3 separate regions of the Homo sapiens genome follow, and regions 2 and 3 are each linked to region 1. The links are contacts of gene promoters, found by promoter capture Hi-C in blood cells and fetal thymus (Javierre and others, 2016). All regions are on one chromosome and are shown on one strand. Each heading gives the region's core, a stretch centred on a gene start or on the middle of the fragment in contact. The rest is flanking DNA. Distances are from core to core; before and after follow the strand shown.

The links. Contacts are between HindIII fragments. The CHiCAGO score rates a contact against its expected background, and 5 or more counts as called.
Region 2: a contact is called between a fragment that was not itself captured here and the fragment with the promoter of MSRB3 in region 1, in 4 of 17 cell types (erythroblasts, M2 macrophages, megakaryocytes and 1 more). The highest score is 9.1, in erythroblasts.
Region 3: a contact is called between a fragment that was not itself captured here and the fragment with the promoter of MSRB3 in region 1, in 1 of 17 cell types (M2 macrophages). The highest score is 5.1, in M2 macrophages.

What each region holds. Positions count from the first base shown.
Region 1 is chr12:65,276,618-65,280,609 of GRCh38, reverse strand. MSRB3 (methionine sulfoxide reductase B3) reads right to left here and starts at 1,927. Exons shown (of 7, transcript NM_001031679.3): 1 at 1,745-1,927. RefSeq lists silencers at 1,178-1,487, 1,588-1,717. The HindIII fragment of the contact is 13,781 bases long and covers 763-3,992 here.
Region 2 is chr12:66,110,495-66,114,486 of GRCh38, reverse strand. No RefSeq gene overlaps it. Among named protein-coding and RNA genes, the nearest start is that of LLPH, 18 kb to the left of the region's middle. The HindIII fragment of the contact is 1,421 bases long and covers 1,267-2,687 here.
Region 3 is chr12:66,049,882-66,053,873 of GRCh38, reverse strand. No RefSeq gene overlaps it. Among named protein-coding and RNA genes, the nearest start is that of LINC02425, 21 kb to the right of the region's middle. The HindIII fragment of the contact is 6,832 bases long and covers 1-3,992 here.

The sequences.
Region 1 (3,992 bases), core at 678-3,177:
ATTAGACTGATATATCAGCTGGGACCGGAATTAAAAGAATATATGTTTAAATGGTCCAAATATAAACTTGATGTTCAAAATTACTGGCAAGGGGCCAGTACAGTGGATTCTGGTCTTCGAAGGCCGTTTCACCACAAGTATTAGGTAAGTCAACACATCACTGAGGAAAAAGAAAGCATACATATGTTTCCTGGCAATAAAATCCACTCTTCACTATCCAGCACAGTATTTTTTAGAAATCCATTGAAAAATGTGAAATTAGAACCTGTTGTATTTCCCAAGAAGTGCTATTAAAGTTACTTCCAAAATATGAATCTATAAAAAACAGGGTTTTTTTGAAAAACAATACTATGCAGAAAGAAACATGAAACTGATATCACTGCTCAAGTTACTATTTACAAATTGCAAATTGAATAAAGTTAAATATTGTAAATATCTGCCATTAATCTGAACTGACAATTTTATAAGTTATATGAACCCTGAAGTTTTTTTATAGACAAAATTGTTTTTGAAAATCGATCTTGCCACCAGCGCTGCAAATGAAAATATGAAGAGATAAACCAGAGAGTACTGAATATAATCTATGCTTCATAGAGTCATGTTTCAACTAATTTATGAGTCCTAGTTTGCCATATCTTATTTGACAATTTAGTCTATTGGTAGAAAAAACAAAAGCAAACTAAAATCTCCTAAGAAATCTCAGCTCTAAGGAATTATAATTTATATTCTTCCATTCCCGATAAAATTAAGAAGCAAGAAGCTTTGACGACTACTCATCACAAACGTAAAAGTCCATGCAATTTCACATTTACCTTTATCCCTACCTTTGTACTTTAAAATAACTGCTTTTTAAAATAATAATCTGATATTAAATTCCCCCCAACAGTTCCCACATGATTCAAGAAGATTATCTTATAAAGTCTTACTGTAACGACTTCATAACTGCCACTTCCGATAGCTATTAGCCCTAAACCAAATAAGGCAGGAACAGCACTTTTCATTCATATAGTTTGACTCGAAATAGCCCAGTGTAAAACTTCAAAAATAGACTTGGATGCCTTTTTCTGCTTAAAAACAAAGCAAAACTGATACCTGGCAAACTCGGGGTTCTGTTCGATTTTGGCCTGTGAAATGCCAGGCGGGCCCGCTGGAGTCTGGCCCAGCAGCGGGGCAGCAGCGCAGGGAGGGCGGGCGGCGGGTGCGCTCCCGGGTGCGCCCCTCCCTGCCGCCTGCCCGCCGCCCCGCACCCCCGTCCTCTCCGAGGCGCGCGGCGAAAAGCGCAGGCCTGGCGGGCCGGTTCCCACGCCTCGGGCCCGTTATCTGAGCGGCAACCCCGGCAGGGTCGACGCACAGAGCAGAGGGCTCCGGGATGGACCCCTCCCCTGCCTCCCGCGGGCTGCCCCGCCAGATCCCTCTCTCCTGGGCCCGCGCGGGGCGAGAGGCTCCCGCGGGTTCAGGTTCGCTCCCGGGACAGGATAAGGTGTCAGTGAGGCTGCCAGACGCCTCCCTTCGGCGGGTGGGGGGAAACCAGCCCTGACCTCCTTCCGTTCGGCCCCTCACCGCTGGCGCGGGGCGCAACCCTTCTGCTCCCCTTCTCGGCTGAGGCAGGGGCTGTCCCCGCAGGTGGCCGAGGGGGCGCAGCAGGCGCAGAATGGAATCCCGGCTCGGGGTCACACCCTAACGTGGCAGGGTCGGGGTGGGAGGGGTGAGGCGAGGAGGAGAGGGGAGGGGAGCCCGAACTTACCGGACTGCGCACTTCCCAGAGCCGCGGCCAGGCAGAGGCAGAGGCAGAGGGAGAGGCAGAGCGAGAGGGGGCGCGGGAGGGTCCGCCGCGGGCTCATGGAAAGGCCAGGCAGCCGCCGCCGGTGTCCGAACCTCGCTCCCTCCCTCCCCGGCTCCGGGCGACGGACGGGGCGGCGGGAGGCATGACGGGAAATTCCTGGGCACGGGCAGCCGAGTCCAAATATGAGCATAGGAGACGAGCGAGGGAGGACCACGGAGCGCGCCGGCCGCGGACGGGGCCCGCTGCCCGGGGCTCGGCGGCCGCCAACTCCCTCCTCCTCTGCCCTGTCCTCTTCCTCCTCCTCCTCCTCCTCTGCACCGTCCTCCTCCTCCTCCTTCTCTGCCCTGCCCTCCTGCTCCTCTCCTCCCCCTCGTCCTCCTCTGCCCCAGGGCTGCCGGCCGCCTTCTGCCTGGGGGCATCCCTTTCCAACTCGGGACCCCAGAACACAGCCAAGCGCCCACCTGGCGTGTTCCACCTGAGACCGCTGAAGGAGTGGGAAACGGACAAACCAACACGAAGAGACCGGACAGCGAGCCAGGGACCTGTGGGAAGACGTGTCAGGGGTTGTTGAGAGCGTTGGTGGTGAGGGGATAAAAAGTTGTGGGAGAGTGAGGCAGGAGCAGGGCTGCCAGTTAGTTACTTGGCCATCCTATACATACAGAACGAGCACTCACTGTAATACGGAGAACCAGCCGCCTGCGTTCCAGGTGAGCGGGCCCTCTCTAGCAGAGGAGGGTGAGTGTGTGTGTGTTCTTGGCCAAAATTGCAAAGGTGCTCGTCCCAAACTTATATTTGAACACCATATATGGAGCCCAGGCAGGCTGGCTGAACAGTAGTTTTTCACAACAAAATGCTTAAGTTTACACCGGTCTTTCTCTCCACCTCCAATCTCTATTCATGTCCACCCCCCAACCCCCTCCACACACTTGTTTTGTATGTACCGTAGCTTGTCTAAAATGAAATGGTGTAATTCATTCAGAAGGTGCCACCTCTGATGAACAAAATGTCAGTCCTAGATGTTTAATTACAGGCCCAAGCCTGTAGTTGCCTAATTTTCCTTGGCACTGATAACTCCTTGGGTAATCAAGTCCAAATGACCCTTAGCTTTTCAAGACAACATAATTATGTCTTAATTACTATAATATATTTTTTCCCTCAAACTAATGGGACAGGACCTGGATATGTAGGGTATTAAGTAGTTACTTACGAACATTTTAAGATGCTAGATGATACAGAAATGATTTATTGATCCAAAATACTTAAGGGGTAAATGTCAAACAGATTTAGAGTGTGGATTATTTCAACGTGAACTAAAGTGATGGTAATTTGTACATCACACTATTTGTTTGAAAATGCTGTATTTGAAAATCAAGAACGTTGTTTCAAATCAAACTCAGTTCTGGCAAACTATTAAAACACATACACCAAAAAACAGTCCATTGCAAGTGGCTCCCCTCAAAACATCTGGTACTGAAAAACACCACATCCTGTGAATTACATATAGCAAATGGGCAAATGTCACCCTTAATGCATTGGCAATTATAATGGGACTAAGGGTAGATGACCCAGATAAAGTAATGGTGAATAAATTGTAATGCAATGAATAAAGGATTTAAATGACACATAACATGACTATTTAATTAGGTACCTAGAACCTAGGTAGTTGGAAATACTGAAGAAGCTCTTCAGTATTCCCTCCGTTTCCTCTTTTTTTATAGCCTTGTGTTACATAAGTGTCTGTTTTTCTACTTCCCCCACAACACTTTGCAAAGTTCTTTGCCCATAGTCCAAATGTTTGTTTAAAAACAAAAATAAAATGGGCACAGCCATTTGTAGAAAGGAATTTAGAAGCTCCCTAAGTGTAAAGCATGTTTCAAAGGATTGCAATAATTATGCCTATATTTAAAATATTTTAGTGAAGAACCTTACATACAAAAATATAGAATTATAAAAAATGCAATATCATTACAACCCAATTCATGTTAGTAAAAATAGAGAGTTCATTGTATCAACATAGCTGACATCACTGTCAGCAATGCCAACCACTATTCTAAAGGCTTGAATAAATATGCTAAGAGTGGCAGAAAAGAACTAAAGTTACTAAGTGCATGATAAGTGCCAGACACTGTGCTAGATGTTTTTTATAACTGATATCTCATTTAATTCTTACAAATATCTCTGAGATTATTTTTATCCCTATTTTACAGCT
Region 2 (3,992 bases), core at 728-3,227, 830 kb before region 1:
TAGCATTTTTCTTTGTGGCCCAATGACAATAATAGAAACAGGTTTCATGCTTCTGTGCTGTTTCTCTTTATCACTTTTTCTCTTTCTTCCTCTTCATTTCCCTCTTTTTTTTTTTTTCTTTCTGCATTGGCCTCTTCCGTGTGAGTATTAACTCTAATTTCCTCCTTGGGCTCAAGTCACTACTCTTCTTGCATTTTCTCTCTATCTCCCTCCCACTCATTCCTCCCATACACCTCAGTCTTTCCACTCATTATGTTTTTCTTACTCTTCCTTTTCACCCTTATCTTCTAATAACTGGATTCAATGTGAACTGAAAAAATGCTTTACAACAGGTGTAGGTGCTATGGTTTGAGTGAGTCCCTCAGAATTCATGTGTTGGGAATTTTGTCCCCAGTTTGCTAGTGTTGGGATGTGGGGCATTGAAAAGGTGACTAGGTCATTAAGTGGGATTAATGCTGTTCTCGAGGGGCTGAGTTAATTCTCGAGTGAGTGAGTTTTCCCTCTCCTGAGACTGGATTAATTACTGCAAAAGCAGGTTGTTATAAAGCTAGCCCACCTCTTTGTACACAGGCTCACTTGCCCGTCCTCTTTTCTGCCATGCTATGGAGCAGCAAGAGGCCCTCACCAGATGCGCTAACCTGATCTTGGACTTTCCAGCCTCCAGAACTCTGAGCTAAGTAAATCACTTTTCTTTATAAATTATCCAGTCTCAGGTATTCTGTTATAGCAACAGAAAATAGACTAAGATAGTATGCAAATGGGCTGGCCCTTTGTTTTTGTAAAAAAGTTTTATTGGCACAAAGCCATGTCCACATGTCCATGAATTGTCTGTGAATAATTTGTGCTACAAAGGCAGAACTGAATAGTTGTGACAGAGATTCTTGTATAATCAGCAAAGCCTAAATTAAAATTTGGCCTTTTAAGAAAAAGTTTGCAGACTGCTGCTTTAAAATATTTTCTATAGCAAGAAGTACCACTACTGAAAAGAAAAATGAAAAGTAAAAAAATAAAATATTTTCTGTTTGTTAAATGAAGGCTTTTGTTCTTTATTTGAAAATTCAGGTGAGTTGGATCTGGTTTTATGTTTCCATCCTGTTGCATTTTATATTTGGAGAATCCCTCCAAGTTTCTTATTGGAAGGCAGTTGTATTAAAAAAAAAAAAAATAGACAAGCTTACCCTCACTCTGTATCAATGCAAGGCAGGTGGTACCAAAAGGTTGTTTGTATGTTTAGGTGTGTTCCCCATCTGCCACCTCAACTAAGCTTCTTTTAGTCTTTGGACTTAAAAAAAAAAAAAGATTGTCCCATTGTAGAGCTTTTTTCACAAATCTCATAACTCACTTTTCCCTTAAGTCTACAAACAATTTTTGAAAATGTTAAATGCTGGAGAAAGAACTCTGTTTTAATTTAATATGGCACCTAGAATACTGGCACATGTAAAGACATTCCAATTTAGTTTGATTTGGTGGGTGGTCTAGCTGAAAATACACTTACAGGTTGGTTTCATTAATAGGAAATTAATATGGACTAAAATAGTCATAGCATTTAAGGCTGGAAAACGTTTTAGAGATCATCTATTTTAACTTGTGCTTCTTAACAGATGAGGAAACTGAGGCCAATTTCCCCAAGAGGTTAGTAGTTCATGGCAGAGACCAGGAGCCCAAGAGTCTTTGTATTCACAGACCAATCTTTTTCAAAACCATAAATAGGTGACAATTAACCACACAAATAATAACATTTGGACTAATGTCAAAATTAATTGTATTCTTTTCTATAAAAGAGGGGTTGTTAAATAAAGCTATGGTGTGTGACTAGTGATCTTTTCTGTAGGTCTGTTTCTGCCGTAGTTAATAACCAATCCTTTCCCATTGGTGGCTGTGCCTCTTTGTTCCACAGGTAGTATAACATCTTTTACTTGAAACAAAACAAAACAGCAGTAACAAACTTCCCCCCTCCCCCATGCCCTCCATCAAAGGCCAGATTTTTTTTGTTTTTGTCTCTACTCTTTCCCTTCTAATTCATCTTGTGTGGTTGTCAACTTCTTTTTCTTTCCATAACTTTTGTTGTTTTTTCTCATAAAAGTAACACATGTATGTTGGAGAAAATTTTAAAACCCAAGAAAGTATAAATGAAATAAATAATTCATAATCCAACCACCCAGAGAATGTGTAGCTCTGTGTATATTTTCATAATTGTCTTAATACTGTATAATTTTATATTCTGCTTTCTTAACTTTATATCATGGGGATTTTTTTCCCATGCTGCTGGAAATTTTTTAAGAGTGTTGTTTGAAAAGTTCCCTCATTCTGTCTTGTGATAAACTATATATTTTTTTATTTGTCTACTTTTGGACATTTAATTTTTTTCTGAAAAAACTTTTTATTTTTGCTATTAAAATACTTCTCTGTAATATTAATGACCTTACATGTAAGTCTAATCCTTATCTGATTATATTCTTGAGGAAGGGTTCTAGAAGAGTATGAACTTTTCTTTAAGACTCCTTATCTGTATTGCCAAACTGCTCTCCTGAAAGGCTGAAACAATTAGTAATCCTTCCAGGAGTGAGTGAGTGCTTGTCTGGGGTACCCTTGAAGGGTTGTAAAATTTAAGCCTTTTAAAACATTCCTTTCAGTAAGTCATTCTCCTGCTAGGAAACTTCCCATGGCTGCAAGACCAAATTGAAGCTTCTTAGCATACTCTCTTCCATTTCTTCACTTCCAGTTGATTTCACAACCACTGCAATCTGGCAGGTCTAACATTATATTGATGTCTAATACCAGGAGTGACAAATTGGTACCCTTGCCCTGGAGAGACTTTGTACAGTGTTCTGCTTTGTTTTTTTGATGAGATTGTTGCCTTTAGATGGGTCAGACACTTCTAAAGTGATCTCTAGCTAGACAGTCCCTTTTGTTTGACACACACTGACCGGCCCTGGGAGGAAACTGCCTTAGGTAAACCCATGCCACTTACGCTCTGTAATCTCTTTTCCTCACACACTCCATGGCTGTCACTGCCAGGGCATCTTGGCTTCTACTGCTTTTTCCTGAGAGAAAACAGTAGATATTTTATTGTGGTAAAATATACAAACATAAACATTTATCTTTTTAACGATTTCTAAGTGTGCAATTCAGTGGCATTAAGTACCTTCACAGCGTGGTGCAATCATCACCACTGTCACTACTGTTTCCAGAATTTTTTATCATTTCAAACAGAAACTCTGCACCCATTAAACAATTACCCCCCATTCTCCCCTCCCTCCACCCCTAGTCTCCACTATTCTGCTTGCTCTCTCTGAATTTGACTACTCTAGATACCTCATATAAAGGGAATCATGGAATATTTGTCCTTGTGTGTCTGGCTTCTTTCACTCAGCATCACGTTTTCAAGGTTCTCTATTATCCATCTTGTAGTATGCATCAGTACTTCATTCCTTTTTAAGGCCAAGGAATATCTCATTGTATGCATATATCACACATTGTGTATCAGGTTATCTGTCAATGGACAGATATATATTCTTCTGATTATTCCTCTGAGATGATTTTGAGGCCCACAGTGCCAGCTCACTCAAATTTCCCATTCTGAGAACTCTTTTTTTGTTGGTCTACCTCAATGTCATATAACAAGTGACAAAAACATAAGGGGCTGGGAGCAGGAAGGAGCAAAGGGAGATTCACAGGCTGTATGAATGTGATAATGATAAATTTTTACTTTTTTTGTAAAAAAAGAATGATTTAAAAAAACTCTTGGTAAACAATTATGACATAGCATTCACATTTTTGGTAGCAGATTTCAGGTGTTTTCAATACTTTTCAACTGATACAAATAGCTTTTTTCATTTGGAGAGTTGGTGGTGGGAGATGCACAGAGACCCTCAATGCTTTACTTATGCTGACTTGTGACATCTATTATTATTATTATTATTATTATTATTATTATTATTATTATTTTTGAGATGGAGTCTTGCTCTGTCACCCAAGCTGGAGTGCAGTGG
Region 3 (3,992 bases), core at 787-3,286, 770 kb before region 1:
GAGACAGTGCTAAGTCAAAAAAAAATTGTAAGAATGCTGGTAATAGTCTGTATCATGGTCTAGGTGCTGCTTACATGGATAGATTCAGTTTGTGAAAATTCAATAAGGTGTCTACTCATGAAATATGCACTATTCTGTTTGTGTATTACACATAGATAAAAATTTTAAAAATAAACAAAATTTGTAGTCTTATTTTGAATTATGTAATTGGCTGCTGAAACTCACCACCTCTGGCCGTCTTCCACTGGTCCCAACTCCCCTTTTGTTACCAGATCAACAAACAATTTTCTGGTGAGAAAATGGTAAGGTAATTGTTCCAACAACTGCAAATATAAGTATTTGTTAGACCAAAGACTCAGAGTGGAAGTTAACCCTGGTGAAGGAAATGGGCTGCTTACCTGTTAAATTCTTTTCATCTCTTGGTTTCAGTAATCTTAAAAGTTTTGCACTTTTTTCTATTATGTTGACACATTGGGTACTGAGTGTGCAGACCTGAGGCATCTTGAGTGTGCTTTAAAATTTTTTGCTTAAGTAACCCACAAGACTCCTACATTCTTTAGTTTTGCCTGTATTGAGAATCAGCAGTTACTTTTAAGTTTTAATAAGTTTCACATGTTTTGTAGTGAAACTGTGTTTGGTTAATTCCAATCTTTAATTAGTAGCCTCTGGATTGGTGTATACCAGACACAGGGATGTTATTAGTGCGAACTGAAAGCTATGTGTGTTCCTCCATAACAGATCAAAACAAACCTTGTGTGCTCTGACAGCATTAAACCCCACTGAGACCTGACCAGGATATGGTTTTCAGTTGTAAAAGAAAATTGTAATTCACAAGTCCTTGCCAGATGTTGTACCCCAATATCTCAGCTTCATTACATCTACCCCAAAGTAGGTGGTGATATGAGGGTTACCCAAAAGGGACCTGTTTGGTTTTTAAAAAATCATTTAAAAATTAGGTCATTGAAAATATTTAAAGTGGGAAAATTGGTGCATCTTGTTTTTTTAAACTTTGTAATTAAAAATCTTTTGGGATGGCAAATTTTGGGGAATGTAAATATTACTTTACAGTTTAGAAGATAGCTTTGAAATCCTCATATATAAGGTACATTTTCTTGACAATGTTGAATCAAGAAGAAAATTTGCATCTACAAAATATAAAAAGATATTAAGATAAAATAAGTGGAAATGAGCAAACTTGAATGAAAACACAGATTAGGGATCTGGTGTCTGTTTCAAGAAGCAAACGAAAGAATTCTAAGATTTTTCTTATCTCAAACTTGTGCCACATTGTGGATGCTACCAAGTGCAAAATTACAAAAACTTTGATTAGCTTGACCAAGACAAAAAGAGCTAATGCATTTTAAAAAACTAGTTTGATTGGCAGTGGCCTCTGAAGTGTGGAAAGGTATCAGATAAAGTTCAAATGCTAATGTAAATGGTATATTTACAAGTGGTTCATGTGGTTATGTCAGGATGGTGAGATTCCACCTATCTTGGAGTTTAACACATGACTGTGAACGCCTAGACTCCTAGGCAATTTAGATGGTCTTTCCTTGATCATTCTGTTATACGACTTCGGCAAAATATACATTTTGTACCTTACATTTCTCCTTTCTGAAACTATTAGATTTCTGAATGTTTTCTTTGGTTAGACAATTGGTCTTCTTCTAGCACTTATTTCAATATAACTTTAATATAATTTCACAGTAATATATAATGCAGATGGTAAAATATAGTAGTAGCTTTCATCTTATAGGCAAATCATATTTTATCTGGTTGCAACTATAAAAAGTTATTCCTGAAGGAATGCCATGGTAAGAGTTTCCCCCTCCTTCCCCCACAGTGGGATTTTACTGTAGTAAAGATCAATGTTAAATCTTGGTGATTTAAAATTTAAGTTATATATATTCCCTATAAAGAAGTAACTACAGAAAGCAACTCCATGGGTAATCTGGTTATGAACATAACTTGACACTAAATTCCCTCTTGACTAATTTGAAAGATACCACTATGTTCCTTTGTTTTTAGAAGCCCCCAATTGCCTGTCATTGACAAAAGAGCAATGTTTTAAAATGTGGTGGAAGGATGTTCTTTTTTAAAGACACTCCCCTCTCTCTTTTCACGCATTTTGAACTTATGAGGAAGCAAATAATCACATACTGAATTTAAGAAAGAGTGTTTTCTTGTATCAACACCAGGAGCAAAAGATTTTTTTTTTTAAACAGGCTTTTAGGATCCCCAGTGCTAATTCCTATGTGTGAACTAAGCAATAAAACCACACAGGCGAACTCGAACTAGGCTCTGAGGTTGGAGAATAAATTTAAACCTTCTTTGGAATTTTTCCTTTTGACTTGTTTTATTCTCCAGATACAACCACAGAAGTGGAATTCATTGTTCTTCATGCTGTGTATAAATTGTTGTTGGCACCGAATTTTTGAATTATATCCTCTAAACATCCTTCAGAGGGATAGAGTTTTTTACTCTTTCCTCTCCATTTTAAATTTAAAAATTTCAACTTCAAGAATTAACGGGATTGAAAGGTCTCTTCGTGGTTTATTATCTGTTCAGAGTTTTCATTAACAATTCATTTTGGAAAATTTACCCGCTTTCATATTAAAACAGGTAGATAATGAGTTCCTCGTTTTATCTTGCTATGTTTTCCTACAGTGAAAAAGATTTAAAATCATTATCTGTAATTCTAAACAATCTCCAGCCCTTGAAAGGCTATTAAATACAGAAACCAAGAAAAATATGTTTTTTATAATCAGTAATACCTTAATATTTTATGAGGACTCTAAATATGTGATTCTGTTGGTATTTATTGTTAGGCTAATGAATTGTTTTAATTGCTGCTGAATTTTTGTAAAATTAAAATTGAGAGGCATTTTAATTCAAATTATTATTTTTATTAACACAAAGAGAAGTACTAGTACCTCCTTACTTGTGGAGTGCATGTGCACGTGTTTTGAAAGACAAACCTCCCATCACTTCTCCTTCTACCTCTTTGTAGTACAGAGTGGTACAGTTGCAACAGCAGAGGAGTTGTTCCTGACTTCTGGTCTTCATCCTGCCTCATGCTAGCAGTATGACTTTAGGTAAGTCCCTTAATTTCCTTAAGTCTCAATTTACTCAGCTCTAGAATAGAAGAGTTAATAAACACCTGCCTCAAGGGTTGTTGTTAGTGGCTACACATCTTGTACACTGTAAATGATGTGTTACCATGTTACCAACCAGGGATAAGTATCTCAATAAGTAGCTCTTCTTTTGGCTAATATATTACCTAAGGCAATGGGGAGATAGTGGTTAAGTGATAAGCCTTTGGAACTAGACATTCCAGAGTTCAAAACCTGGTTCTGTGTATTAGCTCTAACAAACTTTGACAAGTTTCTTTATCTCTCTGACTTTCAGATTCCTCACCTGTAAAAAGGGGTTAATGAAAATACCTCAAAGAGTTACCAAGAGGATTAAGTGAGATAATATATACATTTGGCACTTAGTATGTGCCTGATATTTAGTAATTGCTCAATATATGGTATTATGATTTTGTATTTGCCAACAGTAATCAGTCTTAAGTTCCCCTTGAGTAATTATAATCATTATTTGTTTTAAAAATGATGTATCAAGAATTTATATCTGTGTTTATGCAGATGAAGCAACTCAGTAAATATTTGCTGAGTGAATACATGACTTTCTTCAATGTGGATTTTTTTAAAAAGGTACTTTGTTACCCAGCAAATGCTCCACATTTAAAAAAATATTTTCATAGAGGCTGGGCTGTTTCAGCCTTCCAGCACTTTGGGAGGCTGAGACAGGAGGATTGCTTGAGGCCAGGAGTTTGAGAACAGTCTGGGTAACATAGGGAGGCCCTGTCCCTACAAAAAAATTTTTGAAAAATTAACTGGGCATGGTGGTGCATGCCTGTAGTTCCAGCTACTCAGGAGGCTGAGATGGGAGGACTGCTTGAGCCCAGGAGGTAGAGGCTGCATTGAGCT